2 separate regions of the Homo sapiens genome follow, and region 2 is linked to region 1. The links are contacts of gene promoters, found by promoter capture Hi-C in blood cells and fetal thymus (Javierre and others, 2016). All regions are on one chromosome and are shown on one strand. The core of a region is centred on a gene start or on the middle of the fragment in contact, and the rest is flanking DNA. Distances in the headings are between cores, read along the strand shown. Region 1 holds the start of OR52H1 (olfactory receptor family 52 subfamily H member 1). Region 2 holds the start of OR51V1 (olfactory receptor family 51 subfamily V member 1).

Region 1 (5,218 bases), core at 751-3,250:
ATTTTGTCACTGTCACAGGCTTTGTAAATTCCTAAAACCTCTCCACTGGTCCTATACCTTCTTCCCCAGTAATGCCTCTATAACAACTCACAGCACTCCCAACTTGTCTGAGGTCATCCTTTATTCATACATATGTGAGGAAAGGTTTTCTCAAGTTTTTGTATTTCCATGAACTCAAATACAACAGATGTTCATGAAGTCATCCAAAAGCATTCACAAACACACACGGGTGCACAGACGGTTAACTCTCTCATTTAACAATCAGACAAATCCACAATGTGGAAAAATCTACAACAATCTGTTTTCTTTTTTCAAGTCAATGCCATTAAAGGGGGAAGGGGAATATTAGATAAGGAAAATCCATTTCCAGATTAAAGTACATTTAAGAGAAAAACAAATAAATGCAGTGTGGTTATTTATTTATTTATTTTATTGAGACAGAGTCTCACTCTGTCACCCAGGCTGGAGTGCTGTGGCACGATCTCGGCTCACTGCAACCTCCGCCTCCCCGGTTCAAGCGATTCTCCTGCCTCAGCTTCCCGAGTTGCTGGGATTACAGGCGCCCGCCACCACCCCCAGCTAATTTTTGTATTTTCAGTAGAGACGGGCTTTCACCATGTTGGCCAGGCTGGTCTCGAACTCCTGACCTTAGGTGATCCACCCACCTCAGCCTCCCAAAGTGCTGGGATTACAGGCGTGAGCCACCACGCTCGGCCTGCAGTGTAGTTCTTGATTGAATTCTGTTTAAACAAACCAGGTATTGAATTCAATTAATGAATAGTTAGGGAAACTTAAATATGGACTAGGTATTGAGTGATATAAAGGAACTAGTGTTAATTTTATCAGCAATAATTATGGTATTATGGTAGATACACATACATACTCTCAGGCATCCACAGTATGTTAGCAAAATATTGGCACAGAGCATGTACTCTGGAGCCTCAGAAAGCTAGGTTTCACAATTTAATCCTGGTTCCACAATTTACTAGCTATGTGAATCTGGGCAAGCTATTTAAACTACATGATATTTGGGTTCCTATGTTTTTAAAAGAAATTAATATTTCTAATTTTTATAATTATTATTAGGACAAAATGATACACATTGAAAAAAGAATTTTTTTTTTGAGACAGAGTCTTGCACTGTTGCCCAGGATGGAGTGCAGTGGCACAATCTTGGCTCACTGCAACCTCCACCTCCATGGTTCAAGTGATTCTCCTGTCTCAGACTCCCGAGTAGCTGGGATTACAGGTGCCCGCCACTATGCCTGGCTAATTTCTTTGTATTTTTAGTAGAGACGGGTTTCACTATGTTGGCCAGGCTGGTCTTGAACTCCTGACCTTGTGATCCACCTGCCTCAGCCTCCCAAAGTGCTGGGATTATAGGCGTGAGCCACCACGCCCAGCCGAAAAATATTCTTTAATATAGTACCTGAAACATAGTAAGCATGTAACAAGTTTTACTTCTTTATATTAGGTTATATTTTATATCATTAGTATTATCATTAACAACCAGACCATGCAGTGGAAAAGAGAACAGAAATTGCAAGATGGATAAAAATTAACAGGAGCACCCCTGGGCATACACACATACCAGCACACTTAATTCTACATTTTAAGTTAGAGTTATGGACTCTTGTCACATGTCTGAAACAGAAATTTCCTAACACTGCTAACTGTGGTCATACTTAACGCAGCTGTGTAATTGTCCATCTGTTCTGATCTTTTGATGCTTAACTCAGTGGAGCATATACACAAGTACTGGAGATCAGGACCTCAGTTTATAAATGGGAGTTGCTCAGGAAAGAAAATTATAGTGCCCAGCCCATGGTCCCTAAGAAATAGAGCCCTGGCTTTTCACTCACTTTCTCTAAGTCTTGTCCCAATCAAACCCCTTCAAACAGCCAATACTCACCAAATCTTGGGGATCAGGCCAAAGGGAAAGAAGAAAGAGTGTGTTGACAAAATCTACAAGACAGCAGACACACCAACCAAAAAAAAACATGAGTGGAAGGAAAAGGAAGGACGTTAGAGAGGTTGATTCCCTGTCCATTTATTTTCTCTGATCACTCACTGCTCCTTGTGGGGAAAAGGTAGGTAGTTAGGGGATTAGAGACTCTGACATGCCCTCTTCTCACCCTCAAGGGAAGAAGATGAAAAAGATTCTATTAACCTTGTTCATGCCTTTGAGTTAACACTGCCTTAGAGTGCTTTATTTATTTATTTATTTGTAAGCTGATGTGTATGTGGGTGGAAAGCTGTGTGTATGTGCCTATCATATCACCCAGGTTTCAAGTTCATGCCCTCACTTACCAGATAAAGGACTTTGGATGAGTTACTTAATTTCCATTAAAAGGTGGTCATATTAGTACCTGTCTCTCAAGATTTTATAAGGATTGACAAATTAATAGGATACTGCTAGTGAAAATGCTTAACATATCGGCAAACTTATGGTGTAAAGGAATAACCTAGGGCACCTGTTAAGATGAAAATTATATGGCCCACATGAAATAATTCTAATATTATCTTTTAAAAATTCCAGTGGCTTTAGGGGTACAAGTGTTTTTTGATTACATGGGTGAATTGTATAAGGTTGAAGTCTGGGTTTCTAGCGTACCTGTCACCCATATTGCGTAGATTGTACTCAATAGGTGATGTTTCATCCCTCACCCCTCTCCTAGCTTCTCCTCTTCTGGGTCTCCAATGTCCATTATACTACTATGTGTGCCCTTGCATACCTATAGCTTATCTCCCACTTATAATTTTTAAAACATTAAACTTCATTAAACATTTTTATTGGTAAAAACAATATGAGCAAATAAAATATATTCTTATGGAGAAACTGTTAGGTCTACCAGCTGGTACTGTCAGGAATTTCTGCAAGTCCAGATATCAATTTTTACCTAAGAGGCTTTTACCCAACAATTCTGAAAGCCAAGTCAGTTTTTGTCAATGTTTGTCAAACGTTTGCTAAATATTGTTGAATGTGTTAATTAATAAAGATTGCCAGGAGTCCACTCAGTACTCTGAATGTTCTAGAATATCTGGAATAAACCAGAACTAATGAGATTAGTATTGTATTGGCTCCCAACAGAATTTTTACCTTTCGCTGAATAAAAATTGAGGTTGCTTCACCTCTCTATACTAGGATAAGGGACTGAAGAGTCACATGAACTTGTGTATTCTGTAAGAATGTGATTAATTGCATCACTTACTGCCTATTCTTTAAGAGCTTTCTAAAGATATTTCTCCATTCTTCATATAAGAAGTAGTTTTGCTTCTCTAACAATTAACTGTCTGTAACTTATAGCCATCATGAATTATGTAGCTAATCATGTTTAACTCTCACATAGACTGTTAGAAAGCTTACAGCTCAATTTCTGACCCACATATAATAAGAGAACAAAAATTCATAGCAGGTGGAAAGTGTATTTTCGGCCTATTTTTTGTCTTAATTTTTAAAAATCTTTCTACTTTTCTTTTTGCCTTTTCTATTTATACTTTGTAATATGCCACATAACAATGTTTCTGAACAATTGTCCCATAAGATTACAATACCATATTTTAGAGTACCTTGTCTATGTTTAGACATGTTTAGATGCACAAATACCATTATATTATACTTCCCTACAATATTCGGTATAGTAACATGATGTACAGTTTTGTAGCCTAGGAGCTATAGAATATAATAGAGAGCCAAGGCTGTATCACACAGGTTTGTGTAAGTACACTCTATGATATTTGCACAATAATAAAATCATCTAACAACACATTTATGAGACTCTATCCTCATTGTTAAGTGGGACCTGACTATATTTTTATTTATGGTATGCAAAATACATCAAGTAATTTTGGAAACAATGCATGTAGCTATTGTCACATGTTAAGAGATAGACTATAAATTCAAACACAATTCTCCGAGTCCAAAGGACATTCTTTTCTATTAAAACTATATGTTGAGAGCCATTGTAGAAATAAAAATTCAATGACATGTGAAAAGGGTAGTAGCACGGGGATGGGAAAGTAGTCTCAAGGTAAAGAGACCATGAACAACTCTGATATTTTGAGTCAAGTGAAAGCAGTGAGGGTTTGAACTACTGGGGTAGGGGAGGAGGGTGCCTGCACTCAGCCGGGGAATCCAAGAGGTTATTTAGAAAAAAACCACAGGTTTTGAGGACGTATCAGATTTGAAAGGGAAATAAGACATTGATTATCATTGCTGCCTGGCAGACACCTAAAAATAAGTATTACTGACCAAGTGACTGAATGACTCACTATGACCAAGTTATGCATACTGGATTTGAAGAGACAATGAATCATACAGAGGTACATTTTTGGCTTGTGACTACATCTCTATGGAGATACAAACATGAAAAAAATTGAGACCACCAATGCTTCCAATTGGTCAAGTCTTAAACCCACTTCTTAGTCTGTACGTGCTTTACCATTTTACTAGCCATAGGAATTTGCCTTCCTCCTTTTATTCCTTGTGGAAAACTCCACCCACCCACAACTCATTTGGCTTTCTCAAGGTTGAGTTAAACATTGAGTTTTATCATTGCCTTATCCCTTTGCTTAATATAAACACCTGCACTCTTAAATTAATAATTTTATGATTATTTGCCATTTATTTATTTGATAAATGTTGCCTATGTCCCTAGTGTGTGCTAGGTATTATACTTGATGTTGTTTAGAAATTAATAGGAGTGAACAAAGTAAAAACCCAGAACCCTGCAGAGTCATCAAAGAGGTAATTTTCCTGCCTTGCTATGATGTATAAATAAACTACCATGATAAATAAATCTGAAAAACCATTCAGATTTGCCAATCATTACATTGTCTTCATTAAAAGTTTTATAATCACTTTAGAGCAATCATAAGGAATTACAAAAGTTCTTGTTTCTAGAAGTCAAAAAATATTTATTATTTCCTAGACTCAGAACTTACTTTGCTATAACTGAAATGATTGAGTAGACTTCTGCCTCAAATCACAAAGAAAGCAAAACTCAAGTTTTCGTTAATAAATTTTAGTCTGTCCTTTCTCTTGGGTGTCTGAACACAGGTTCAGTCTTTGACCTAACACACACTAGGAACTTGTCCCTACCTCCAAGAGCTCAGGCACCTATCACTGGGACCCCTTGGGAAAGAGCAAAAGGATTCTGTTCTGGATTTGCTTGGTCTTTATTCTGTAGACAATAGAGTTGAGAGCAGGTGGAATGAT
Region 2 (5,654 bases), core at 818-3,317, 350 kb before region 1:
TTTAGTTGATATCTAAAAATAAAAATAAATATTTGCTTTTTGGTGTAAAATGACTCTTATGCATTAATTTGTCCAATTTTAACACTTACCTTCTTAGATACCTAATAGAATATAGGAAGATTAAAACAATTATTTTCTTGTTATCCATGCATAGTTTTGTACCTGATTTCCTTCCTTTCTTTCCTTCTTTGGAAAGCTGCACTAGCTTACTTAGAAAAGAACCGCTTTATGTTCTTTTATCTTTTTTCTTTTAAACTCAGAATAAGTCGGTAGCGGACAGTCTCATCTGTTCAGAAGATCCCCCACTTAGATATAAAAGCAAAAGATCTAGAGCAAAATCTGCTTCCAGCCTTGTAGCAGTGGAGTCCACATATAAAATCTAAAAAATAAGGATTCTAATTTAAATTAGACATGGTAGAAGTTGAATCCAAAGTCATATTTCTTTGTGTCCTCTTTATGAACTGTAGCTTCCCTGTCCAATATAGTGGCTGCTGAACTGAACTGTCCAATACAAGGACATTAAACATTTAAATATAAATTAACTTAAAGTAACTGAAATTGTAAATGCAGTTGTTCAATTACACTACCATCATTTCAAGCGCACAGGAGCCATATATTCCACTTTAGCCATTTTATGGTATTTTATAGAACATCGCCATCAGTTTAGAAAAGTTCCCTTGGACAATTCTGGTCCATACAGATATCACAACATTCCTGTGAGTTGGCTATAGTCTCCATTTTGAAGGTTAATTAAGTAAACCTCAGAGAATGAAAGAAACTTCAAGTTTTCTACTTTGAAACTTGAAAACCTAGGTTTTTAATCCAGCTTTGTTTTACAGCAAAGGAAATGCTCAAAAGTACATTTCAGGCAAATAAACAATTTTTTCCTCTTTCTTAAATATGGTCAGACTGATAGAGTGACCTACATGTGTCCAGGCTGACACAATGGAACTTGTTTGTTGATTCTCTGACTATATTTAAATATTTTTTAAGGTCATTTGTCATGGACTCAGAGTAAATCTACAATTTTAATAATTTTTTCTTTTTTATGGCACTGATTTTTGTTTATTATTGTTGCTGCTTTTCTTTCTTTTTTTTAGGCAATACATCTCAATATCTCTCAATATCTTTTCAGAGAAAAGAGTCTAAGCATTCTGGTATGAATCTGTTGGGTCTTGACACTGTAGATGATGGGATTCATTAAAGGTGGGAAAAGGATGTAGATGTTGCCAATGAGAACGTGGGCCACGGGGGAAAGGTGCTTGCCAAAACGGTGCACCATTGTGAGGCTAATGATAGGGATGTAGAACACAAGGACAGCACAGATGTGGGAGATGCAGGTCTGAAATAATTTATGCCTCTCTTCCTGAGAGGCAACTGCCAGGACTGACTTAAGAATCAGGATGTAGGAGAAAAGGATGAGTATAGCATCCAACAACAGTATGCAAATAACCAGCATCAGGGCATAGTAACTATTGAATCGGATGTCTGAACAGGCTAAGCGGAGAAGATCCTGGTGCAGGCAGAAAGAGTGAGAAAGGATGTGGAAATGACAGTAATTAAAAAATTTCAGACAGATGATGGGGGGTGTAATAAAGAAAAAACTCCTACCTATTATAGTGAGCCCAATTTTGATAATTCTGGAATTAGTCAGGATGGAGGAATAACGTAGTGGATTGCAAATTGCAATGTACCGGTCAAAGGCCATAGTGAGGAGGACAGAGGACTCCATGAAGGACAGACCATGGATGAAATAGGACTGGGCAATGCAGGAATCCAAGCTGATCTCTCGAATGATCCCCCACAGGATCCCCAGCACTGTGTACACAGTGGACAGCCCCATGCACAGGTCAGTGAGGGCCAGCATGGACAGGAAGTAAAACATAGGCTGGTGCAGGCTTGGCTCAGTCCATATCACATGGAGAACCATGCAATTGCCCAAAAGCACCATGGCATAGATTGAGGAGAAGGGGATGGAAAGCCAGGGGTATTGCTGCTCCATGCCAGAAAATCCAGTGAGAAGAAAGGAAGAATTCGTGCTGGTGCTAGGGCTTACTGAAGTAATCATTCTGGAACTGAGAAACATGTGAGAGTATTTTTTCAAAGGAAATGTTTCAATTTCACCTGAATACAATGAAATTTCTAAGTAAATGAAATACCCTAAAACTTACTGACTTAAAAAAAACAGCTGAGAAATTCTGTTTCTTTGAGACATAGTATCCATTGCCTTTGAGAAAATGGTCTTCTTTTGATGTCATTTAAAAGTCATTATTTTTTCACTGTCTGGATGTGAACATATCCTTAGAAGCCATAAGCAAAAACAAATAAGGAAGAGATTAGTAAAAGGAGAAGGCTAGTTTTAAAAAAATACGTTGCTTAGACATTTTCCCAAGGATAGTGGTAAAAATTTTATACCAGTAAAGAGCCGAGGTTCTTGAAAAATTATTTTCTTCTCTCCAATTCATTAAACATTCGAAGTGAAGAGTAATCTTTGGGCTTTAAATATCATAAGTCTATTAAATAGTCACTTTTCCGTCATTTTCCATTTTGTGCCGTCTCCAAGTATATTTTTTCTCCAAATACTATTTAATGAAGATACTCCTGTTTTCTCCCCCTCCAGATGACGTAGCCAGCAATTACTTTTTCTTCATTGGTGATAAGCAGACAGGAATATTTATGCATGAGACCTTGGGTAAATGATTTCTCACTGGAGCTCTGGCCTCTTGAGATGTTCAACTCATTTGTGCCTTTGTGATGTAGAGAATTAGATTGAAGACACTGAGCCTTTGATAGCAGCTCAGTGCTTCCCATTCCTTTATTTATTCAGTTAATGAGCTGATTAACTATTTATTCAATATACATTTATTCAATGTATTGGCCAATTGTGTTTTCTTTCTTAGAACCTGCAGTTCTACAGATCACAAAGCCAGGCTCAAACAAGCAAGCTTATAATTTCAAAAGCCTCATGGTAGCAGAATCAATTGGCTTCTTCTTTACATTGTTTGCCTGCTTTAAGTTCCAGACCTGAGAATCATCATAAGTTTTTTTAAAGCTCTAATAATGTAAACAGATGTTCAAAAGTCCATACTTTCATGTTTGATTGAGTAACTTCGAGATGTTAAAGTAACTTCAGATTTGGGCTGCCCTTTATGTCCTACTTTTCAGCTTTGTCTTATTAGCCTCACAACACAGTTCCACAGACTTTCTTCTCAATGTACTCTCTATACTACACTGACGTCTTCTAGCAGTCTAACCATTGTTTTTCTTGCCCTGACTCCTTCTCAGCATTGAATAACTTAGCTCACTATTTTTAATACTTTTTTCTCCATAGAATGCTTGAAGTTTCTTCGTTTCTTGCAGAGGATTTTTCAGTCTTTTGAATACGTATCTTCTTTCATTTCTCTAAATCGAATTTCTCTTCTTTCGTAAAATTTTTCTCGAAATGTTCTATCTGCCTAAATTATTCATCATCTTTTCCTCAATTTCTTCCTACCCTTTTTAAAACGATCTTGCAACTCAACAATCACTTTTCAAGAAGTTTCTTAAGACAAATTTATCCATATATCTATTATTTTGGTATCATGTTTCAATTTTAAATAAAACTTATAATTTTGTATTTATTAGCTAAATATTTAACTAATATTTAAACTAAATATTTAACTAATATCTCTGTTACAAACTAAATTCTCAGTTCCTTAATGTGCAGACTATGTCAACTTTTTCTTATTATTTGAAACTAACATTTGCACCTCTGATTCCTGACCACTCCTGAGAGCTCAAATTCATGAATACAACTGGCTATTTAATATATTCATCTGAGTGTTTAATCTTAAAATAAGAATGATGCCAATAAAGTACTTGATTTTCCCCCCAAAATCTATTTTCTGTCCCTTTTCTCCTAATATTATAAAGTGACTCCACCAATAACACAATTGCATAAGACAAGTCTTGAGTCATTTTTAAAATTTTTTATTTCTCTCTTTCCTTCCCTTTCCTCTCTCCATCAAATCTTTCATCAATTTCTACCATTTCTACCAGAAACACATCCCAGATAGGCCCACTTTTACACATTGCCCGTCTTGGTTTATAATATCATTGTTTCCCTGGCTACTATGATAATTTATTAAATTAATAATAATTTAATATTATTACTAGCTAATATCATGATTTATCTGTTTGTCCTCTAAAAAATGTATTATCTCCAGGGAAACCAAATTGCTTTTCTACAAACATCTACTAAATCACACAAACCTTTGTTGAAAAAACTCTTTGATGGTCACTTACCCATTGCTCGTAATGTAAAATACAAATTCTTTATCATAGTCAAAAAGCCTTGTATAACGTGGCTCACCTGCCTCTTCTATTACATCTTTAGACCACTACTGCCTACACTCCTTAATATTTAGGTATCTTTATCTTCCTCAAAACAAGCTAAGTACATGCATGTCTCAGGATCTTTGCCCATGGTCTTCTCTGTGCTCCGAATTATCTACCCCAAGTATTTGCACAGCAATTCCTTTCACCATTAACTTTTGAGTTAAAATGATTACTTCCTCAGGGGGATTTTTCTAATACTGCTCCCCACCTAGATTATCTCATTTCTTCAACCCCCTTAACTAACTTACTCTCATCACAGTATACTAGTTTATATTTATACCACTTATTATACACTGAATTTCCATTAGATTCATTAGAGGCTGTAGAAGATTAGGAACCATATCTGTTTTTTGCTCAAGAATATGAAAAATAAGGGTTAGCATAGAATGGGCACTTATCAAATAATTTTTAATTAATTATTCTATGAAATAAGAGCTAGACAATCACAGAGATATAAAGATAATATGAATGTGAACACTCCTATCAAAGTGTGTGTAAAATCATCTGTGTACACTTAGTCTTTTCTGACCTTTGGCCACCAATTGAGTCATCATATACCAAGTTTGAATGGTTTATAAAACAGATGCTGCTCCAGGGATCTTGCTGACCTTGAATACAACACTCCAATTTCAAACATGATTTCTCTCATTTCCAGCCTGACTCAGACATATCGTCAAGGATCTGGGATTGATCACAAAAGATTTAATATTCTGTGAATGTAGGTATGTGTTAAAAGTATCTACTTTCAGCCAGGCTTGGTGGCTCACGCCTGTAATCCTAGCACTTTGGGAGGCCGAGGCAGGTGGATTGGCTGAGCTCAGGAGTTGGAGACCAACCTGGGCAAAATGGTGAAACCCTGTCTCTACTAAAACACAAAAATAATTAGCTGGGCATGGCAGTGTGCTCCTGTAATCCCAGTTACTTGGGAGACTGAGGCAGGAGAATTGCTTGATCCTGGGAGGTGGAAGTTGCAGTGAGCCGAGATCGCGCCATTGCACTCCAGTCTGGGCGACAGAGCAAGACTCTGTCCCAAAGGAAAAAAAAAATCTATTTTCATGCAGGTTTCTTCAGACTGACTACAAAGGCTTCAGACTAGCTACAAAGCTTAAAAATCTACTTTCATTCAGGCTTCTTCAGACTAGATACAGAAGAAATGAGACCATCTAGATGGGGAACAGTATTATCCATGTTGCCACCATAGAGACTATCAGCCTTTTGGGATTACCAGAGCAAAATACATGTTGGAGGATTTTTTAAAATATGTTTTGAAAGGTAGG

Evidence for each region. Contacts are between HindIII fragments. The CHiCAGO score rates a contact against its expected background, and 5 or more counts as called.
Region 2: a contact is called between the fragment with the promoter of OR51V1 here and the fragment with the promoter of OR52H1 in region 1, in 1 of 17 cell types (megakaryocytes). The highest score is 5.5, in megakaryocytes.

The regions. Positions count from the first base shown.
Region 1 is chr11:5,546,540-5,551,757 of GRCh38, forward strand. It overlaps OR52H1 (olfactory receptor family 52 subfamily H member 1), which reads right to left and starts at 2,001. Exons shown (of 2, transcript NM_001005289.5): 1 at 1,913-2,001. It also overlaps the pseudogene OR52H2P. The HindIII fragment of the contact is 4,857 bases long and covers 1-3,360 here.
Region 2 is chr11:5,198,615-5,204,268 of GRCh38, forward strand. OR51V1 (olfactory receptor family 51 subfamily V member 1) reads right to left here and starts at 2,068. Exons shown (of 1, transcript NM_001004760.3): 1 at 1,121-2,068. The coding sequence starts at 2,068. The coding sequence ends at 1,121. The HindIII fragment of the contact is 3,813 bases long and covers 1-2,943 here.